3 separate regions of the Homo sapiens genome follow, and regions 1 and 3 are each linked to region 2. The links are contacts of gene promoters, found by promoter capture Hi-C in blood cells and fetal thymus (Javierre and others, 2016). All regions are on one chromosome and are shown on one strand. Each heading gives the region's core, a stretch centred on a gene start or on the middle of the fragment in contact. The rest is flanking DNA. Distances are from core to core; before and after follow the strand shown.

The links. The method cuts DNA at HindIII sites, captures the fragments that hold promoters and counts their contacts. A CHiCAGO score of 5 or more calls a contact.
Region 1: a fragment that was not itself captured here is called in contact with the fragment with the promoter of ERLIN1 in region 2 in 1 of 17 cell types (fetal thymus); the score reaches 5.3 in fetal thymus.
Region 3: a contact is called between a fragment that was not itself captured here and the fragment with the promoter of ERLIN1 in region 2, in 1 of 17 cell types (fetal thymus). The highest score is 5.0, in fetal thymus.

The regions. Positions count from the first base shown.
Region 1 is chr10:99,616,890-99,619,721 of GRCh38, forward strand. The region is part of intron 1 of SLC25A28 (solute carrier family 25 member 28); the gene reads right to left. Among named protein-coding and RNA genes, the nearest start is that of SLC25A28, 2.1 kb to the right of the region's middle. RefSeq lists an enhancer at 2,776-2,832. The HindIII fragment of the contact is 1,032 bases long and covers 837-1,868 here.
Region 2 is chr10:100,184,646-100,187,345 of GRCh38, forward strand. It overlaps ERLIN1 (ER lipid raft associated 1), which reads right to left and starts at 1,384. Exons shown (of 11, transcript NM_006459.4): 1 at 869-1,384. The coding sequence starts at 981. It also overlaps a transcript of CHUK not described here. RefSeq lists a silencer at 1,282-1,431 and an enhancer at 1,602-1,751. The HindIII fragment of the contact is 3,606 bases long and covers 466-2,700 here.
Region 3 is chr10:100,996,890-100,999,589 of GRCh38, forward strand. It overlaps a transcript of LZTS2 not described here. Among named protein-coding and RNA genes, the nearest start is that of LZTS2, 1.6 kb to the right of the region's middle. RefSeq lists an enhancer at 1-7 and silencers at 91-380, 2,171-2,580, 2,681-2,700. The HindIII fragment of the contact is 2,612 bases long and covers 1-2,556 here.

The sequences.
Region 1 (2,832 bases), core at 103-2,602, 570 kb before region 2:
AATGTATGTAAGGTACTTCAGATAGTGCTTGGCACACAAGATCACTGAATACTTATTACTAGATGCAAGAAAATCAAATAAGCTAATGTTTCCATTTCCTAATCTTTCACAGGTGAATATGTATAGATACCATTTACATCTGGAAATTGGAGATTTATCTCCCTCTGCTCTTCCCCTCTTTATTATATAAGTGGATATTTGCTTTACCACTTCAGAGCCAACAACAGCAGCTTGATGATAGGTGGGTACTTCGCCAGAGGATTTTGAGAAGGGTTCTGACTGTTTTGGGTTGCAGAATGTCCCCATAGATAAAGTCTGGCGCTTGCCTTTGAGGCCCAGAAAAGGAAACTGGGATTTATCTGGGCTCCCAAGCCTCTCCATTATAGCCATGGAAATAGCTGGTTGAATAACCATGATCCAGCAAGGCTACACTGACTTCTCATGGTCCCTCTCAAGGATATTTAAAGTCAACTTGACCCTGATAAGTAGCTGAGGATGGACAGGCCTGCATGTCAAAAGGCAATGTCAGCTTTCATTTGCAAACATTGTGGTTGCCCTTTAGGCTCCAACAACATGGATATCTGCCTCCAGTCTTAAAGACTGGGCTGCTTTTCCTCCCCACTCATCCACTTATTAAAAGAAGAAGGATAGCTGCTGGGGACAAGCAAACTGGGAAGTCTTTTCTGAAGGAAGAGATTTGAATTTTACTTTCATGCCTGCACAAAAGTGTTTAACATACTCACTGACACTAAATCATACTGGCCTCACCTAGTTCTTCCCTCTAAGTCATTTAAATCCCAGCATTAAGTGCAAGTGAAAATGAGCCTTCTAAAATAAGCTTTCGTATTGTTGACAACTCCTGAGCATTTTTTTCTCAAATCATTATTTCCTTAATAGAGGGCTTTCAGGCATAACTGCTATGTTGTATGACTAATTTTTAAAAAACAAAAATTCCAAAGTTTATGTAAATGAGTAAGAACTGTTCTTCAAAATAGTTACCTTGGAAGGCTACAATTGACTTATTCCAGCAAAGCTGTGGTTATGCAAAACCTTTCTGGAACTTCTCTTTCAGAGGTGTTTCCTCAACGGGTTTATAGGCCTCAGAAGTAAAGCAGTCTCCTTGCTTTCCAGTCCCACCTTATTTTGATGCCAAGCAGTATTACCCATTTTGACCTCCCACTTTATTCACCATATTTGATTCTGAATAGTCTTTGTTCTTGCAAAATCAATTCCATCTTGTCACAGGGCAAAGATTTGCCTCCCTTAAGGACATGCACCCAAATATTCTAGAAGCATTTTTAACAGGGATTTATAAAATGTTTATAGCAACAATAGCACTATGTAAATATATGGAGTAAGGAGATAACCTCCCGTTCTGTTATAATGGAACAGTGGTTAAATTGATAAGTTACAGTAATATTTCTAAGACAAATTATTACACTGTATTTTTCAAGCCATTACATAATTTTCACTGTTTTCATTGATCTGTTTTCCATTCAATACTCATCCAGAAAAACAGCATCCTAAACCCTGCACTCTACTCACAGTCTAAGTCTAGGGAGGTTACTCTGCAGCTAGATTATATTAACTTTTGGATATACGGCATTATTAACTCACAAGTCATTCAACCTAGAGTCTATACATATAATGTGTGCATCTTTTTTATTTATACTTGTTTTACATTTCAATGTTGTTACTTCTCTCTCATGGATTTTACAGTTTATTTCTATTTCTCCCAATTGACAAGGACATTTAACATTCTAATGTCCATTTTAGTCAAGTGCATTTACCCCGTTTTCAATGGATATGGCCCTTGTTAGGAGTTACCTTGTGTTAAAATACTCCTGCCAGTTTGCTGTCATTCACAAAGCTTAATGAGCGCTCCCCCCATTTCCTTATCCACATTCTAATGAAAAACATGAAACAGTACTGGAACCAAAGGGAAGTAAAAGGGATCTACTTTGCCTTTCCCAAGTTGATTCTCTCCTCCTTTTGAATACATAACACTTTCCTGATTTGAAGAGAAAACATACATCAAAAAGCTGCCAGGTCACTGTTTGACTATTACCCTTCACATGTAAAGGAGGCATCGGTCTTTGTCATATCAACAGTCCCCTCTAGTTTACCTCTCCCTCAATTCAGTCCTCACCTTTAATGGCTGGCACCTTTACTAATGTACAAGAATAAGAACTGTAAAGAACAATAATCTGTTTCTTTCTTCACCCAGCTTTCTTCAGAAGGACCTGACTTCAGTACACATAAATCATCCTGCTTGGTTGTGAATGCAATTAGTTTTACTTTCACAAGAATCGTGTCCTCTTGTTGATCTCTTTCCATTTTCTTCATACTTACATCTACTTTCTAATACCGTCACACTTCCTTTCTAGGCAACTTCTCCCTTTTTGCCAACTTCAGGTGGCCAAAGAAATATGCTATCAGTTTCATCTCTCTTGTTTGGAGGCTGATGTGCTCCCTGAACATACAGTCCTAATCCCAGCTCAATTTTCATGTTCAGGAAATAGGTGGGGTATCATGCTTGCTTCACAGAGAAACTGAAACCTATTCCTGAATACGATCTTTCCCACATTACTTCCAGTCTGGAATTCTGCATTCTCACTGCACAATGATTTCCAATCACTCATGTGTTAAGATTTAACATGTAAGTCCTTTATCTAGCTGAGAGATCCCAGATTCGGGTTCCTGCCCCGTCAGTAAGGGAAGATACAGCAAGGAGTTTGTAAAAGCACTAGCCCAGAAAACATCTCAAGCCGTTAGATCCATTTCAGGGTCTGGTTCACGCCAGTTGGCTTCACCTTAATCGAGTTAGTAGCA
Region 2 (2,700 bases), core at 134-2,633:
CTGGTTTTACTGTCAGAAAGACAATGCTTTTAAACTGGAAGGAAATCTGGACTAATCTGTAATTTCTTATGTAGAGCTCCATCTGCTAAGATATACCATTAAAATTGCTCTTTTTCTAGGATTCAGGATGGATTTGAAAGTAGAAATATCAGTTTTGAGGGATAGTGGAAACAAGCAAAAAGTTGACGCTCTTTTTGAATACACCATTATCCCAATTTCTCCACAAACTGGCCTCTCTTACTAGTCTGTATCAAAAGGAACTTGTGGTAATTAGGCTGAAGGAAAAGCTAAGCGAGCTCAACAAGAGAGCAACAGCTCCCACACCACTCCTGTCCCCAACTTGAACAGCAACAGTAAGGAGGGAGGAGCATGGCCCATCAGTGTTGTGCTTATGTCCCTGGAGGTCCAGGGACATAAGCACCATCACAGTCATCATGGTGTTACAAGACGTAACCAGACACTGGAAGCTTTTAAATGAAAAAGTCTAAGAAACAACCATAAACATACAGCATCTACAGCGGCAAACTAAAGCCTGTACAGTTGAACGAACTATAATTTATCCATCTCTTCAGTTAGAGGTAGAGTGACTACTTCCTTTCTTCCTTCTTCATTTTTCTACAAATAATTGAGTTTGCTGTGTATAGGAATAACCGTAGGGAGACTTAATCTCTGCAACAAAACGAACATAGCACTAAAACTGTCCAACATCTGGAGGGTGCTCCGCAAAAGCCCGCTTCGACCCCCGTGCTCTCCCTAGAGATGGGACATGCGCCCCCGAACGTTGCAGAGGGAACAACTTCCCAGACTCCACTCTGGAGTACCCTTTTAATCTGCTCTAGAGCCCTAACTGACTGCACATGCCGCTCACCTGTAGTACACAGCCAGATGGCCCTCCTCAATCTTGTGGATGGAGGCGTAGAGCAGGACAGCCACCAACCCCACCACTGCAGCCACCAGAACCCGGGCTTGAGTCATATTCATTCTCGTTCCTCCTGGGAGCGGGAGAAAAGGACCCTCAGTCCCGTGAGTGACAGGTCCACCCCCTCCAGTTTCTACCCTCTCCCTCCGGAAACTTGGCGCTCTCTCGCAGGCTGAGCCGGGGAGTCCAGTACCCCTGTCCCCTCATTCTTCCCTTCTGGCTGAGCCCGCTGACCCCTTGCCAACTCCTCCGCCCCCGGAGGCCAGTGGGCCGCCCCTGCTCGGTGAGCTTCCTGAAACTCCCTCTCCCAAGGGTCGCTCCCGGGTGGAAGGCACTAACTGAGAAGAAGCCCAGCCGCAGGCTCGCGAGGAAAGCCGACCCCTCGGCCGCGCCTCACCGATCAGTGACGCATCGCCCCCGCCCGCACGTGCAGCCGACTCCCGCGCCGAGCCAACCGCCGCCAACAGCCGGCCCCGCCCACTCGCCCAGCACTGCGGCTGCGCGGGGACGCACACGGCGTAGCCCCGGCCCGCGGCTAGTGAGACGGGGAGCGCATGGGACAAAATTCTCCTAGCCGCGGGCCGCGCAGGCTCCTTTGGAGGCAAGTCGCTTTCTGTACACTGCTGGTTAACTGCTTCGGAAGAGGACAGCCCGCAGTCTGGAGTGAGCAGCGAAGCAGAGAAAAGGAGACGCCCTTTCGGACAAGGGACTGGTTGGTTTGTTCTTGTGCAGAGAACCCACTCGCTCACTCTCAAACGGTAGCTGTTCGGTTTATTTGTCCTTTTGCAGTGTATGCGGAGCCCCACTGTGTGGCACGCACTTGCTTCCGGCAGAGATCCTGCCCTTCAGGAGCAACTAAACTTGTTGCAAATAAAGTGCTGTGAAAGTTCAGAAGAGGAAGATATTAGATATAACGGCATCATTCTCTCGTTTTTTAAGTGTTCCTATTATGTGCCAGAATGCTGGTCCAGTGAGGGCTTTATGAAGGCCATCCAGACTACAGGAACAGAATTGCTAAGCACATGGGGCGGGAGGCGGAGGGAATCCTCCAGGGAGACCAAAGTAAGTACTTCAGTTTCCTTGAAGGCTTGTGTGATGGGAAGGAGTGCTATGGTAGGCGTCACTACATATTCTGTTCGTTTTAAATTAAAAAACCATGGGCACATATTGCCAAAAATAAAAAAGGGAAGGAAAAAGGTATAGTTGGGAGATAGATGAATACAAGAGAAATTAAGGACATTAATGGTTTAAGCCTTGAAAGGCTAGAGGTGGAACTATAACTGGACAAGGTGGACTAGGGTTGTAAAGTCCTCTAACCCAGCGGACGGGGTGGGGGTGTGTGTGGGTTGGGGATGAAACTGTTCCACTTCAGATCATCAGGCATTAGATTCTCACAGGGAGCCGGCAAACCTCACATGTGCAGTTCACAATAGGGTTCGCGTGCCTATGAGAATCTGATGCCACTCGCTAATCTGACAGCAGGCAGAGCTCAAGGCGATAATGCTCACTCGCCCGCCGCTCACCTCCTGCTATCCGGCTTGGTTCCTAACAGGCCACTGTCTGGTTCCGGTCCGCGGCCCAGGGCTTGGGGACCCCTGCCCTCTTGGGTAGGGAAGTATGGGAAAGCAGTGCTTTAGGGCCAATGAATCTATAAAACGGCTGAAAGTGGAGACAGACTGTTGGCAAGGAAGTCAAGTGGTTAGGAAACTGCAGGCCCAGGGTTACTTAGTAGTGGAAGTAAGAAGAGGTAAATAGAATCAATCCGTCTTCATTAAAGCAAG
Region 3 (2,700 bases), core at 1-2,500, 810 kb after region 2:
TTCCCCAGGTCAAAAACCAAATCCAGTAAGCTGTGAAGTCAGAGGCCAGAGGGGCAGCCTCGGCCACCGTCGAGTCACTCTTAGGCTGGGCACTGGGTCGGCTGCTGGTGGAGTGCGGGGCAGACCACTCCCCTCCCTGGGTGGGGGGCGCGGCCTGAGCCGCCCCGCCCCGCCCCGCTCCACCAGGTCGGGCCAGGCGGGCGCCGGGAGCTGGGAGCCGGGAGCCCAGAGTTCGGAACCTAGAGTTCGGAGCCGGCTAGGGAGCCGGCGTTGTCGCGGCGAGGAGGTGGGCGCGCTGGAGCAGGAGCGGGGCCGGAACTGGAGCCGAGGCGCAGGTGGCGCTGGGTGAGTGGTGGGGCGGCGGAGGTGCAGGAACTCCCGCCTCCCGCTCATCCCCGCTCCTGAACGAACTTTCCGCTTCTAGGGAAGCTAGGGGTTGGGGTGAGGAGGGGGGTCCGCACTTGGTGGGGTCCCCGCGAAGAGTCCGAACAGGGAAGTGACACGAAAACGCACGCCGACGGGCCCCACACACGCGTGCACAGACCCACGCCCGCACTTGGGACACGCGAACACACATGCACTCGGAAAGGACGCGCCCAGTTGGCCACCCTTGCACTCCCAGGGACAGCGCCAGCCGGCCCGCGCGGACCCACAGCGGGCAGGGCACTCTGCGGTCGCGTATTGGGTGCGGGAAAGGGGCAGCCCTGTGACTACCGACGGGGGCGGGCCGGGTGGGACGCACCCGGAGGTTCCTGCTTCCTGGCCTCCCGCAGGTGAAGACCAAGACGTAAACAGACGCCGAGCACGTGACAGCTCCGCAGACCAGTGGCCTGTGCCCCCAACCCAACCACGGGGCGGAAATCCACCCTAGTCCGGGGCGCGTTTGCTTGGTCCCAGGCCGGACGGCGTTCCATTCTCCGCCTGGAGCGGGGATAAGCCCTCTCCCGGGAACCGGAGCACAGCGCCCCCTGGAGCCGGGGCGGAGCAGGAGGGCCCGGCTGCTGGGCAGGGCTGGGGTTAACTCGGGCTCCTGGACGTCCTTCTCCCCAGCACATTCTTGGTGTCTGCATCCCTGAAGGTTTCGGAGACAGGCCCTTGATGGCAGTGGACAGCTGCCCCCGCCTGTTACCGCCAGCCCAGAGAGCAGCTGCCTGAGCGCCTGCGGGTCCCCTTCCTACCCTCACCTCCACTCCTTGCGGGAGTCGGAGTCTCCTCCCCCCAGAAAATGCATGAGTGTAAACGCTCCCTCAATACCAGAGTGGGCCTGCCCCCCTAGAAAAAGGAGGACGAGCCCCTCCCCCCAGGGAATGAGGGAGTGGGCAGTAGCCCGATGCCTCCTCCTCGCCCCACCCCCTACCCCTACACACACGCTGAGCCCAGCTGCCGCCTGAGCTGGGCAGGCTGCCAGAAAGAGGAGGAGGCTCTCGGTGCCCCAGGAGGCAGGGATCAGGGCAAGGCCAGAGGAGGGGGCTCTGCTGGGGAGAGGGGCTCAGTCTGTTCTTGTGAGGCTGAGGGTCTGGGGTGAGTCAGGGTGGCTGGGCTGTGTTTCCCTTTCCAGGGAAAAAGAAAGAAAAACAACCCTGTCCATGGAGCTAAAAATAGAGCTGAGAGCCGGCCAGGGCTGTGGCCTGGAAGGGGGGGATGCTCCTTCCTGGGGCCCGGGCGAGCTCCGGCAGGCCTTGGCCCTGCGGGGGAGGGGGTGGTTAGGGGAGAAAGGCTGCCTTTGCCCAGGGATGCAGGCATCAGCTGACCTGACCGGGTCACCGAGACCCCTAGGGGAAAGGCTGTGCGGTAGAATATTTGTGAAGCACGGCGTGTAAGAAGTTGTCTGTGTGAGTGACTGTGAATAGAGGCTGTCAATGCGTGAAAGATGGTTAGGAGACTAAGTGCACTTGAGACTGTGACTGGGTGCGAAGGACTGCGGATTGTTGTGGAAGCCTGTGCCCAACAGGCCTGTGACACCGTGTCTGTGTGTGAGGTGGACTGGAAGATTATGGAAAGAAGGAACGCGGACCCACGTGACGGCTGAGACTGCGGCTGCATGTGGGAAAGGTCTTGTGGGTGTTAGGGAGACTGTATTGTGTGCGAGAAGGTGAGACTACTTGACCCTGAGGAAGTGGAATATTGTCTGCCGTGAGGCTGGTGTAGGTTTGGGCTGTAGGCTTGCACCGGTTCGCCCCAGTGATTGTTGGGGAGCCAGGGGCCGCTCCTCTCCGATAAATGACCTCTCTCTTAGCAAGTGATCCCGAGGGGAGGCTGGGGAGCACGCGGTCGCGCCAGAGGCCGGCCTGGGTTCGCGGGGAAAAGGGCACCGTGCCGGGGAGTGGGGCAGGGCCCGCGTGTTGGGGGCGGCTGGGTGTGTTCTCCGAGCCGGCCGCCAGGTGGCGTCGCCTCCGCGAAGCCCAGGTTGCCGCCTCCAACCCGCCGTGGGGCAGGCGCGGATCGAGCCTCGGCCTCCTACTCGGGCTAGGGCGCGGGGTCCCGGCACCGGAGAGTGGGGGACGGCCGGCCATCGGCCTCTCGCTTGGGACTCTGAGGCTGAGAGCGTGTCAGGGAAGCTTCGCCTGGAGAAGCGGAGGGGGAGGGGCGGCCGCCGCCGCGCCGTGGCCCTTTGTGCTGGAACAATGACCAGCTGCCGCTGGCCCCGGGGCCCCGGCTGGGGTTGAGGGTGACCACCGCCGCCGCCGCGTCGAGCCGAAC